2 separate regions of the Homo sapiens genome follow, and region 1 is linked to region 2. Evidence: promoter capture Hi-C in 16 types of primary human blood cells and fetal thymus (Javierre and others, 2016). All regions are on one chromosome and are shown on one strand. The core of a region is centred on a gene start or on the middle of the fragment in contact, and the rest is flanking DNA. Distances in the headings are between cores, read along the strand shown. Region 1 overlaps PPM1K (protein phosphatase, Mg2+/Mn2+ dependent 1K). Region 2 holds the start of NUDT9 (nudix hydrolase 9).

The links. Contacts are between HindIII fragments. The CHiCAGO score rates a contact against its expected background, and 5 or more counts as called.
Region 1: a contact is called between a fragment that was not itself captured here and the fragment with the promoter of NUDT9 in region 2, in 1 of 17 cell types (fetal thymus). The highest score is 5.3, in fetal thymus.

The regions. Positions count from the first base shown.
Region 1 is chr4:88,277,121-88,283,976 of GRCh38, reverse strand. It overlaps PPM1K (protein phosphatase, Mg2+/Mn2+ dependent 1K), which reads left to right. Exons shown (of 7, transcript NM_152542.5): 2 at 5,335-5,833; 3 at 6,734-6,834. The coding sequence starts at 5,394. Among named protein-coding and RNA genes, the nearest start is that of PPM1K, 4.0 kb to the left of the region's middle. The HindIII fragment of the contact is 1,892 bases long and covers 4,661-6,552 here.
Region 2 is chr4:87,418,078-87,424,855 of GRCh38, reverse strand. It overlaps NUDT9 (nudix hydrolase 9), which reads right to left and starts at 2,283. Exons shown (of 8, transcript NM_024047.5): 1 at 1,844-2,283. The coding sequence starts at 1,950. RefSeq lists enhancers at 1-413, 414-917, 1,461-2,395, 2,465-2,514. The HindIII fragment of the contact is 3,809 bases long and covers 658-4,466 here.

The DNA of each region.
Region 1 (6,856 bases), core at 4,357-6,856, 860 kb before region 2:
AGGGAAACGTGGCGACAACGGGCTCGGTACGCCCAGAGGGAGGTTGGGAGGCGGAGACCTGGCGGCAGAAGGTGCCGAGGGAGCCCAGCTATTTGCGAGGCTTCGCAGGCAGGCGGGCGTGTGTTCTTCCCACCGTGTGTCACCCTGACCACCCGCCTGTCAGGGCCAGCGAGCCGAGGCCAGGATCCTGAGCTGTACCCAGGTGAGCTTTTCAGGAGGTCCGGCATCGTGAAGGATGCACAGCCCCGGCTGGTTTTGATCCGAAGACTTGGGTTTTACTTTGCGCAGGGAGCGCTGTAGTACTCAAGGCGTTGTAGCTGGTGATGTCTTTTTCAGCAGCCGCTTTCTGTAGATGAGGGAATTCACCGGATGTGACAAAGAGGCTCCAGGTGGAAATAGCCAGGGAATTTGCAGTCTCAAAAGCTCCACGGGCTTTTCTGAGCCTCCCACTGCTAACGTGCAGCAAGGCCTCATCGGTTCTTTCCGTCAGGGCGGAGGAATGAGGCTGTCCTTCGGTTTCAGAATGAGCGACTAAAGTGACAGATTACAATGACGATGAAAAAGAGCAATGAGACCGGTAGCAATGGCTCACGCCTGTGATCACAGCACTTTGGAAGGCCAAAGCGGGCTTGAGCCCAGGAGTTCGAGACCAGCCTGGGCAACACATCGAAACCTCGGCTCTACAAAACATACAAAAATTACCCGGGCGTGGTGGCATGTGCCTGTGGTCCCAGCCCCGGAGGCTGAGGTGGGAGGATCTCTTGATCCTGAGTGGTCGAGGCTGCAGTGAGCCGAGATCGCACCACTGCACTCCAGCCTGGGCGACAGAGCAAGACCCTGTCTCAGAAAGAAAAAGAAAAACAGCCATGGTTTGTGGTGTTCTGGTTAGGCAGCTGTGGCAGGAAGAAGAGCAGCACGTGCGTGTGTGTGTGTCTGATAAAATACCTTAGTTACAATATTTGAGTAGTGAGTTCTCGCTAATAATTTTTTCTTGCAACCTTAGTCATTACTACTGATCACCCAGGCAAATTCCTTGACTGCAATCCTTAGAGACGAGGAAAGAAGAGAGGAGAGTGGCTGGTGACATAATAGACTGTGAAGGAAAGTTCTTAAAGGCATTATAAAGTTACAGGTTTGGGATATAGTCTGTGGCTTGTATGCATATTTACTAACGTGTCTTAAAAGATATCTATGGGAATAGAATACTGAGTACTTTTCACTGCTCACATTTCACACTTTTCTCCAGTCACACATCTGAACATAGACATATTCACATTAAACCTAAGGGGAGTCCTTTGGAGTTTTTATTGTTGTTTTCTTTTTTCCCCTCAGGTAAAGCAGTAAATTTTCTTTCCCTTCCTCCTAGCAGGGTATTGAGAAAGAAGGTATTGGGGTCCCAATTAGCTGAAATACATTCTGGAAATTTCCATACTATTTGAATTTACTGGGATGCCTTAATTGATTTTCTAAAAAGGTCGATAGGTAAATATTTGGTTTAAGAATATTTAAAAGGGCTGTGTTCTCATTGTGGAAGTTGTAGATACCTAAATGCCACTTCATAATGGGCAGATAGGAATGCTTTCTTAAAATATTTTTTCTAGAGGGATAAAATCTAAGCAGGTTTCAGAACTTTAGAACTCCTGAATAATTTTGGCATGTGCTTAAACTGCCCTTTTGACCTGCTTTTAACATACAAGAACAGTTTAACTCAAATCCAGTGCACCTTCCTGCCAGAGAAAGTGCTTTCCTTTTGGATGACTTGACTTCCAAAGATTGAATATAATGTTAAAATGGTTTATAAAAATAAACTAGCCATGTTTTCCGATCAAAAAATTGACCTAAATCTCCCCTGCTTACTTAAAAAGATTCCTTCTCTCTCTTAGTTTGTGGAATAATGAACTCATCCCAATTTTTAATTGCTGAACTGACAAAAGACAATCCTTAGGTGTTTGCTAGTTTGTTCTCCACTCTTTTTGTTTAGAGAACACTGATTGCTTTTTTTTTTTCCTTAAGGTTTTTGTTTTTCACATCACAAGTTCTACTCCCCTTGCCTTGCTGGTCAAAGCATAGTCATTCCCATGGGCATCGGCAGAGCTGTGGGGTCTATGATGGCAGATCCCAATTGTGGAGTTCTGGAGGAGGAAACTTTTCTTAATGTGCAGGTTTAATTCAAAGTTGTTATTTACTTTGGGAACTCCAGCTGCCTTTGAATTGTTTCTTAGGGAATATGGAGGGGATTGATATGATTTAGTTACATTGCAGATGGAAAAGGACATGGAGCCAGTTCGTAACATCTCGTTTACCTAAGCGATGCCGACCTGTTTGTTTGTTTTTTATAAACTAGCTATATATCTGGGTCACATTTCATCTCTGCCAATAATATGCCTTAAAGTAGGTGGTTTCCTATGACTGCCTGCTTTCTGAGATGATTATAGAAACAATACACGAGGAAGGATGCCAGGTTGATGATTGATTTTAAAATACGCAGGTTTTTAGCCTTACAGAAACTGCTCAATTTGCATTTTATCTCATTTCTTAAAAATGTTTCCAGTGGATATTTGTTCTCTGTGAGAATGCAGTTCTATTTTATTATTTAAAAAAAAATTGGGGGGAGGATAAAGAGGAGATAAAACGGCAAGAATATACTAGAACAGTTGCAGAAAAACTTCAATATTTATTTATTTGTAATTCCAGAACTCTGATTTAAAGTAGGTGCATGACTGCAAAGTAGCTCAAGGCTGAATATGGCATATATACTTTCAGACCGAAGCCAAAAGAATAGTATTTTGCTAATCTCAAGTTAACTCTTCAAATACAAATATTTTCTAATAATTGTATTTCTTTAAAGTTCTTTTTTTTTTCTATATGATATAAAGCTGCTTTGGGAATTATCTCCAAATAATTAGTACTTCCATTACCTGGTAGATTGTATTGTAGTTTGAAGTCTCAATTCATCACCTATAATTAACATAATTGGGTTTTTAAATTTTTTTTAACACACCATTGCTGGCTTGAATCCATAATTGTTGCTGAATAAAATCTAACTCTCAATTAGAAGCAAAAGAACAAACATCTCTTGCAATGGAATGTGTTATTTCTCTCTCTCGCTCTCTCTCTCTTTTTTTAAATAGACAATGTCTTGCTCCATTGCTCAGGCTGGAGTGCAGTGGTGTGATCTTAGCTCACTGCAGCCTCTGCCTCCCAGGCTCAAGCAATCTGTCCACCTCATTTTTGTACTTTTTGTAGAGACAGGGTTTCACCATGTTGCCCAGGGTAGTCTCAAACTCCTGGGCTCAAGCAGTCCTCCCACCTCAGCCCCCTTAGTAGCTGGAACTACAGGCATGCGGAACCACGCCTGACTAATTTTTGTATTTTTAGTGGAGACAGGGTTTTGCAAAGTTGCCCACTGGTCTCCAACTCTTGGCCTCAAGTGATTTGCCTACCTCGGCCTCTCAAAGTGCTGGGATTACAAGTGTGAGCCACCGGGTCCGGCCATGTTAATTCTCTTTGATAACCAGAGATGCTGTGTCTCTGCCACTCTCCAACCCCCCAACAATGTTGTCTTACGAAGAAATGAATTTCAGCCTTCTATGCAGGATCTTGGCCAAAAGGCCAAGAAGGGATGACTTCCTAAGTCTTTGATGATACATTACTTGTTTTGGTGGCCATCTTTATTCTAAATTCTGTGACAGCAGAGCTCATATTTTTTTTAATTGCTTAAATATCTAAAGATTGAGGCCAGTCTCTGTGGCGCATGCCTGTAATTCCAATACTTTGGGAGGCTGAGGTGGGAGGATCACTTGAAGCCAGGAGTTCAAGAGCAGACTGGGCAACAAAGTGAGAACCCATATCTACAAGAAATTAAAACAAATAAACACCTAAGGATGTTCTTTGGAACCTCATTCTTTCTTTTGACTGTTTTACCCACCGAAAGAAGTAATGGCCTTCCCTATACATAGCTAGACTGATTTCCAAAAATTCATTGGAAAGTAATTGTTTGAAATCTGTAGTGCATTTTCTCATAACTGCACTCAAGCTGGGTTTCATTTGTGTATGTTTATACCTTTTGGAAAGATACATTTTTTCAAGTTCATTTTTTATTGTGAAATAATTTAAACATAAGATTGAGAATAATATACTATCTGTAGACCATCCACCAACATCATCAAACCTTAGTATTCTGCCATCTTTTCAAGTTGATTTTAAAAGAATAAAGTAATAGAACAAAATCCTATGGAGACAAATTTTTTATTTGTGTGGAAAATTCCCAGAAACAGCTCTACCTGCAGTGGGGTAGGAGTTCCCCTGGGTAACACCCTGTAATGCCAAGAGAGGTTTTAGGATTGAGTTTCAGGGTGGAGTCCAGAAATGGGGGTGTAAAGTAATCGTTTCAAAGAAGTGTAGTCTCAAGTGTCGTTGGGTTGTTAGGGTTGGGGAAAGGAGAGCTGCAGCTGTGAATGTAAATATATAGATCACTCGTTCAGAAATCAGGGCTGCTTGTCACAAATGCAGTGCTGCCAGGTTCCTGAGATCATACCCACATACCCTCCTAGTGAGAGAGTCTGCTAGGATGGGGAGCATCAAAACTGGCTTATCTTTGTGCCTCTGGGGTGTTTGCACACCAATTTATATTTACCATAGTAATATAGTATGTAAAGCTTAGTAGGTTAAGAAATGTTAAAATAAAACTTAGATTTATCCTAGATTATGTTTTTGTTAAAACTTGGCCATTCTTTGGAAACAGAACTATTTTAAGTATTCTATTAGCCTGTTATTTTTTCCTGAAGAGACTTTGTTGCTATTGTTAATATTTATCCCTACCTTTTCTTTAAAGCAATAGAGTTAATGAAGGGAAGTATATTTATTTATACCTGTATTCTGTGTTCTTGCTACTAGAAGTGTAACTTGGGGACCAGCAGCTTCTGTATCACCAGGGTGTTGGTTAGAAATGCAGAGTGACTCCACCCCATAGCCACTGGGTCAGAACATGCATTTTAACAAGTGATTGCAGGTTCAAGTTTAAGAGATACATGTTCTGTGTATGTGCACACTGTTAAATTTTTATAGAATTTAAATGCTGTGAATGCGGTAGGAAAATCGATTCATTTTTGATCCACTGTTCTTAGAAGCAGGCTACTGGATGCCTACCCAATATATAACATAAATATATGTATTTTCTGTCAAATCCTTTATGAGCTTCATTTTTGGTAATATTTGATGACATATCAGTTATATTCAAAATTTCTGATGGTCTCTCTCTCTCTGTCTCTCTCCCTCTCCTCCTCTGCCCCTCTCTCCCTCTGTCCCCTGTGACTTGCATCATTTTTCTTGAAGACATTCCATTATTGTTCCATTGACCTTTCCCTCATCACTGAGTCCTTTGGAGCTGAGTTATGTCAACAGCTGCCTTAATTACTTTGGTCAGAAGTGGTGGGAACCAGGTGAGAAGGAGAGTGCTGCTAAGCTCCCGCCTGCTGCAGGACGACAGGCGGGTGACACCCACGTGCCACAGCTCCACTTCAGAGCCTAGGTGTTCTCGGTTTGACCCAGATGGTAGTGGGAGTCCAGCTACCTGGGACAATTTTGGGATCTGGGATAACCGCATTGATGAGCCAATTCTGCTGCCACCCAGCATTAAGTATGGCAAGCCAATTCCCAAAATCAGCTTGGAAAATGTGGGGTGCGCCTCACAGATTGGCAAACGGAAAGAGAATGAAGATCGGTTTGACTTCGCTCAGCTGACAGATGAGGTCCTGTACTTTGCAGTGTATGATGGACACGGTGGACCTGCAGCAGCTGATTTCTGTCATACCCACATGGAGAAATGTATTATGTATGTACAATGACTTTCACTCCTGACTTTGCAGTTCCTATACTTCCTACTTAAACTTTCACCCTTTGGCTGAGGCTTCCAGCGTAAACATAGTTACTTGAGTGGTTGCATGCTGCTGCTTCACGAATGAGCAGTAGTTTAAGTGTGCCATTTATTACTTATGGTTATCACAATTTCAGAAATGCATGTTTTAACAACTCCCCTGGGGAAAGCATTAACCAAAATCTATAGCACTTAATTTGTGATCATTTTAAGTGAAGTGGCATAATGTACATGAGATAACCTATGAGAAGCATTTACTCCCATCAGTGTAGGACAGATAAGTGCTTCAGTAAATGGTAATTACTCTTTCAAGTGGTGTGAATAGCTTTGAATACCTGACTTGTTGAAAATAGCTTTGGATGATTGGCATTAGTGTGGAAAAATGCATTTAATGCAGGCATTTTGGAGCTCTTCCGTTTATTTACTTCAACTAGTATTAATGCATTTTTGAGGATCACATTACTGCTAAAATTGAAAGAGGGAGAACATGTGATGGAGTTACGACCATGTGACTATTTTTGACTTCCCAGTGACCATTTCTTGACTTCCTGTGTATACCGCATTCCACGAAAGAACTCACAATGGGAAGGAACTCTCGACCTCTCAGGGTTGTGGTAGTGAGGATCAATTCTTCAAGGACAAGGACTTGGACTTTCATTGTTGTGCCCTTAAAAGCTTATCACAGTGCCTGATACTTTGTGGATTCTCAATAGGTATTCCTTAGCCAGTAGGTCTTCAGCATTTGACAGGAAAATCCTGAGGCCCGTTGTGTGGAATGACTGCTAGCTAGAGTAACAGTGAGGAGAAAAACCTATTGTAAAATGATTGTTTAAGGCTCTTTTTTTCCTCCCCACAAAGGGATTTGCTTCCTAAGGAGAAGAACTTGGAAACTCTGTTGACCTTGGCTTTTCTAGAAATAGATAAAGCCTTTTCGAGTCATGCCCGCCTGTCTGCTGATGGTATGTAAAACTATCACATTCC
Region 2 (6,778 bases), core at 1,034-3,533:
TCCCAGAGTTACAAAAACGAAGAATAACTGTCAAGCAACTTTACACTGTTCTGCTGGCATCTAACAAAAAGAGCATTAGAGATTTCCAGAGAGCACACACGTGTATTCCTTCCTTCCTCAAATCCCACTAAAAGAAGATAAAGATAGATAAAGGGAAATAAAATCCGTACCAGGAGAAGGAATAAATGCCACCAGTGAATGACAGATGGTAACCAACTTCAGGAAAATGAAAAGTTGTTGGAATATTGACCTACAAACCAGAGTAGGACAAAGTAAAATAAGAATATGCACCAAGGCCGGGCGCGGTGGCTCACGCCTGTAATCCCAGCACTTTGGGAGGCCGAGACGGGCGGATCACGAGGTCAAGAGTTCAAGACCAGATCAGCCTAACCAAGATGGTGAAACCCTGTCTCTACTAAAAATACAAAAAAAATTAGCCGGGCGTGCGCGCGCCAGTAATCTCAGCTACTCAAGAGGCTGAGGCAGAAGAATCGCTTGAACCCAGGAGGCGGAAGTTGCAGTGAGCCGAGATCGCGCCACTGCGCTCCAGCCTGGGCGACAGAGCGAAACTCCTTCTCAAAAAAAAAAAAAAAAAAAAAAACGCATTAGGGAGAAATGCTATTCCTACAAGCTGAGCCGAGCTAGAGGTTTCAAGCTTGAAGTCAGTGGGCCCAAGGATCATAAACTGGCAGCGCGACAATAACCATGGAAATCACTCAGTCCTCCTCCCTCCCCAATCTCCAAGCAAAAAGTCCAAAATAGTTATGTTTGTCTCCAAGATAAAATCAAAAGTTTTTTAGAAATGAAGGGGTAGGACCCCTACTGTGAATACTGGTGTTAAGAGTACACAGCAGAAACTTAGGCTTAATAATTTTACAGTTCACACGGAGGAAATAAACAGCTATACTCAGCAGAGAAGTTGCTCCACCACTACTGCAAAGCCTGAAGCAAAAGGCAGGTTCCCAGTCTACCCATCTGGTACCTGCTCACATGCCCTCAACTGAAACCTTCCTATCTAGGCAACCTGGTACAGAGCCAAAAGTCAATTAGCGACCCATGTACTGAAAACAAGACCTATTACTCATATTAATCAAAATATAGACAGATAACCAGTGCCCATCACATGTTCGAGAAAAAGCAACAGAAGGAAACAGGACCAAAAAGACACAGAACAATTGACCAACAGTAAGTAAATTATTTAGGAAATAGATTTTTCTAATTATCATCTTTGTAGATTCAAGACTTTTAATATCTATAAAATAAGAAAAGGCTGCTGCACCTAGGACCCTGTGTTTACTAACTCAAAGAATAAAAACTGGAGAAGGGAAGAACAGAAGGAGGCAGTGTAAGACACCATAAATCCCTAAATTTAACCACAATAGACAAATTATTAAAAAAAAGGAGGTAGATAGTAAATATAATATATTGTCCACCCTGGAAAGGGGACAGGGGGAATAGTGATTTTACTTTTCATTTTACATTTTCAAGTTGTTTTAACTATGTACATGTATTAATACTAATAATAATGTTTTAAGTATTAACCATAAAAAAATGGCACGGGACACCACCACCCCAAACAATTGCTATTTAAACTCTCTCGTGATACTAACAATGATTTACAGAGAATGGCAAATTTCAAAATCAGAAGTCAAGAAGGGTCCCTGCCACTCGTTTTCCTCAAAAGGCAGATAAAATATTTTAGAGCCTTTTTGAAAACTTGTATATGACTATAAAAACCCGAGAGGCAAAGCAAAGCCTACAGAATACGCCAGAAAAAAAAGCTGCTTCCCACCCCCAACTCAAGGTCTAGGGCAAAGGAGCCGGTAGTAGGAGGGTGGAATACCTGAACGCCTGGATGCCGCGGCAGCGCGAGGACCTGATAGTCACAGAGGCCAAGGCCAGAGAGAGAGACACCGCGGCTAAAGCCTTTCCCAGGAGGCGTCCCGCCATGAGCGCCCCGAGGGCGGCTTTGCGATGCTAGGTCGCTCTTAGTTGGTGCCTCCGCCTCCCCACACCCCACAGCTCCGAGTCCCGGCCGCGGGTATCTGATGGGCACTAGGACCTGTCTGCCGTTGGGTTCCCGAACGGGAGTAGCTGTGCCTATCTATAAATCACAGATCAAGAGCCCTCCCACGATAAGAGTCCACCGCTTTCCCCAGTGCATCGAGAAAAATCCAGACCAGCACGTGACGCCGAAGCCTCCAGCGCCAGCTGCCTGGGGAAACCGCGGCCACGAACCTCGTAACTTTCTCTCTGCGTAATGGCGCTTTACGGCCGCGCCGCAAAGCAAAGGTCGTGCGTTGCCGGCTTGGTAGCGCCTTCCTTCTCCGACTTCCCAGACTTCCCAGTCTGCGCAGGCTTACTTGGGGACGCAGGGAACTACCAAGAAAGTGTCAGAGGAAAGGAAAGGTGAAACAGACGAGGAACTGGAACGGGAATAAGTGGGAAAGAAGCCAAGGGGTTTGAGAGAGACTTGCTGCCCTGGGTTTTTGGTTTTTGTTTTTTGAGACAAGAGTCTGGCTCTGTCGCCCAGGCTGCAGTGCAGGGGCGCGATTTCAGCTCATTGCCGCCTCAACCTCCTGGGCTTAAGCGAGTCTCTTGTCTCAGCCCCCGACGTAGCTGGGACTACAGGCACACACCGCCATACCTGGCTAATTTTTGTATGTTTTGTAGCGACAGATTTTTGCCATGTTGCCCAGGCTGGTCTCCAACTCTCAAGCTCAAATAATCCAACTGTTTGGGCCTCCCACAGTGCTGAGGTTACAGGCCTCAGCCAACGCGCCTGGCCCTGCTCTGGTTTTTTTAGGGAGTAAGTTGTTGCGGAAGGACGCAGGTCTTAGCCATATTTTTGAATAATACTTCGTTATGGGAATGAAACCGCCTTTGCAAAATTATGACTGATTTGGGAGGCCGAGGCGGGATCACTTGCAGTCAGGAGTTCAAGACCAGCCTGGCCAACGTGGTGAAACCTCGTCTCTACTAAAAATACAAAAATTAGCTGGGCATGGTGGTAAACGCGCCTGTAGTCCCAGCTGCTCAGGAGGATGAAGCAGGAGAATCGCTTGAACCCGGGAGGTGGAGGTTGCAGTGAGCCAACGTCGCACCACTGCACTCCACCCTGGGCGACAAGAGTGAAACTACGTATCAAAAAAAAAAAGAAAAAACCTCTGCTCCCTGAATGCTCAGGGAGACTGATTTGAGTAATAATAGAACTCCGGTCTCACACAGCTGGCTCTGCATGAATTACTCTTTCTCTATTGCAATTCCCCTGTCTTGATGAATCAGCTCTGTCTAGGAAGCGGGAAAGGTGAACCCCTTGGGCGGTTACAGCAAGAGGAGATAGTCCAGAGACTCAGCCCTCGTATCTTGAAGGGTTTCTTGGTTTTTTGTTTTTGTTTTCTTAACCAAGTTGTCTGCTCCAATTGCTGGATTTCATTCACAAGGCTTTGCTAGGACCAGTTGTGGCCCTTGGAAACTCGTGGAGGAGAAAAGCTGTGAAAATAGGCACACATGCTGGAGGAGGAACAGAGGGCAACACACATAATACTGGATAATAAACTTGAGAGGCAAAAATTAAACAAACCGACAAACAAAGTTGGAAACCCAGACTGTCCAAAGCAGCTTGTAATCAGGCTTACTTCATTTATATTAGCTTATTGATGTGGCAACTATTTGACTTTTACTTACATGATCCGCTGTTTCTGTGGTGTGGTTCCAATACACCGACGTTACAAAACTTTGACCATCTTAAAAGCCAGATTAATCGAATTTTAACAACCATTGTTCTGAAAACTGCAGAACTCTCGACAGGTATTGACTGTTCAAACTACACTGTCAACCTAGACGCTGAGGCACGAGATAGAACTTAAAGCATTTACTTTAGCCAAAGTGAGGACAGCTGCCCAGAAGACCCAGACCCAAGTAACCTTAAATGTGAACTCCTGTCCACCTTTGTTACAATCAGGTTTTTAAAGGCAAAAAGGGGACAGGGAGTTGACTGATACAAAGTTGTAAAGAATTACTGGTTTGTAGAAATAGTATTGGTTAGTGGTTGGCTATACGTTAAGCTATAGGGTGCGAGTTACAGTGTCCAGTGTACCATTATTAGGTTAATTTTTAGCTACTTGTGGCTATAGTAAGCAGTTTAAAGAGATGAATGCATAACAAAGTGGGGAGTAGGATGTAATTGCTGTCTCATTTTAATGTCTCTCTGGGCCTGGTAATTTAAAAGGATTTACCTTCCTCATATAAAAGTTCTTTTCTCGGCACTGAGAGATTTGATTATACTCTAGCATAGCTTCCAGTAGCTTAAGGCCTTGTCCCTAGGCTGACCCCAGATCCCGTTAAAATGCTTCCCTGAAATCAAAACTCAATGCCTGGAGAATTTACTGTTTGTTCCAGCCAAAACTTGATGATAGGCAGATAGGTCCCTGAACCCCTTCTTAGAGCAGTCACTTTAGAAAGCTTGTTTCTCTACCCTTGGTGATGTAAGTCTACCACCCAACACAGTTTCCTCAAAGACTTGGGAGCCATCTCTTTGAAATGCAAATATTCAGAAAGATAACTCACCCTAGCTCCTAGTCCCTGTACAAGACCGGTACCTTGCTTTAGCTAGCACCACTGCCTCCTATCATAAAGATAGAAGTTTGTTTCTCCTCTGGATAAGAGCCAGTTAACAAACCCAAATGGCCTAATCACATCAATCAACAAACCACCGTGCCCCCCTGCCACCCCCCAAAACTTAAGATCCTTTTGTGCCTTTCCTTTTTGCATACCACAGCCTTTTGTTTCAGGGAAGTGTGGGATTAGTTTGTATTACACTCTTTTCCCTATTGGACTAGCATCACTGAATAAAGTCTGTCCTTACTGCTTTAACTAGTGTCCAGCTTTGTTTATTTTGACTGCTTTCTCAGGTTGAGAAGTACTATTATTGAAATGTGCATTTTAAAGATAAATATCAGTACTCGGCTTCCTCTGGTCAGATAAACTTTGCTCTCAGTGTTGTTAATCACTGCTTAAACTGGAAATGTATTAGACCGGCTCTGTTCATCAAGTTCAGCGTGTCCAAAGTCTGTTGACAAATTAGTCACTAGAGAAGACAGGAGAAAAGCAGTGAGTTACAAAGTCAACAATCAAAGAAAGGGAGCAACAGAAAGTAGTTCTCACAGGAAGCTCCTCAGACCCTAGTCTTATAACTCCATATTCCCTAAGGGGAGGCTAGCGTGAACTTAGTTTGATGAACCTGTGCAAACAACTGTACAAACAAAACCAATTCCATGGCACTGAAACAAAACTGCAATTAGCTGGGACAGCCAGATCTCCTGGGTTCCTCCCTTCAGGGATGCATACTGCACATCTGCTCAGGTGTAGTGAGTGCATGTTCTGCAACCTGCTCTTGGGTAGAAACAAAACATCTCCTCATCAAATTACCCACATCCTAAATTAGTTAAACAGATGTCATCAGAATTTAAGGAGAAGTAAGGACTTTTTAAAAATTTATGAAGCATATACCAACTTCAAGGGCATCTTGCAATAGTTGGTGAGACAGACCAAGAACACTGAGAAATGAGAATTTTTAAATAGGAAAGTGACATATGTGATTATTAGAATTGATGAGTATGTTAAAAGTAAGAGTAATTCAGAATCCCAACTATTTCCCTGATATAGTTTGGATATTTCTCCCCTCCAATCTCATGTTGAAATGTATTCCCCAGTGTTGGAGGTGAGGTCTGGTGGGAGGTGTTTGGGTCATGAGGGTGGATCCCTTGTGATAGTGCTATCCTTGTGATAGTGAGTTCATGCAAGATCTGGTTGTTTAAAGATGTATGACACCTTGTCCACCTCTTTCTTGCTCCCACTCTCGCCAAAATGTCAGCTCCCCTTTGCCTTCCACCATGATTGTAGGCTTTCTCAGGCCTCACCAGGAGCCAAGCAGATGCCCAGCACCATGCTTCCTGTACAGCCTGCAGAACCGTGAGCCAATTAAACCTCTTTTCTATTGGGGGAACTCACCCCCAATATTTCAACGTAGATTGTTTCTATTTTCCATAAGTGTCAGACAGCTGAGAAATAAAGAGAAAGAGTACAAAGAGAGGAATTTTACAGCTGGGCTGCCGGGGGTGACATCACATGTCGGTAGGACCATGATGCCCACCTGAGCCGCAAAACCAGCAAGTTTTTATTAAGGATTTCAAAAAGGGAGGGGGTGTATGAACAGGGAGTATGTCACAAAGATCACATGCTTCAAAGGGCAAAAGGCAGAACAAAGATCACATGCTTCTGAGGAAACAGGACAAGGGCAAAATCAGAACTCCTGTTAATGGTCTATGTTCAGCAGTGCACATATTGCCTTGATAAATATCTTAACAGAAAACAGGGTTCGAGAGCAGAGAACCAGTCTGACCAAAAATTCACCAGGAAGGAGTTTCCCAATCCTAGTAAGCCTGAGGATACTGCCAGAGACCAAGGCGTATCTCAGTCCTTATCTCAACCGCATAGGACAGACATTCCCAGAACGGCCATTTATAGACCTCCCGCCAGGAATGCATTCCTTTCCCAGGGTCTTAATATTAATATTCCTTGCTAGGAATATTAGTGATAAAGAATTTAGTGATATCTCTCCTACTTGCACGTCTGTATATAGGCTGTCTGCAAGAAGAAAAATATGGCTCTTTTTGCCCAACCACGCAGGCAGTCAGACCTTATGGTTGTCTTCCCTTGTTCCCTAAAAAATCGCTGTTATTCTGTTCTTTTTCAAGGTGCACTGATTTCATATTGT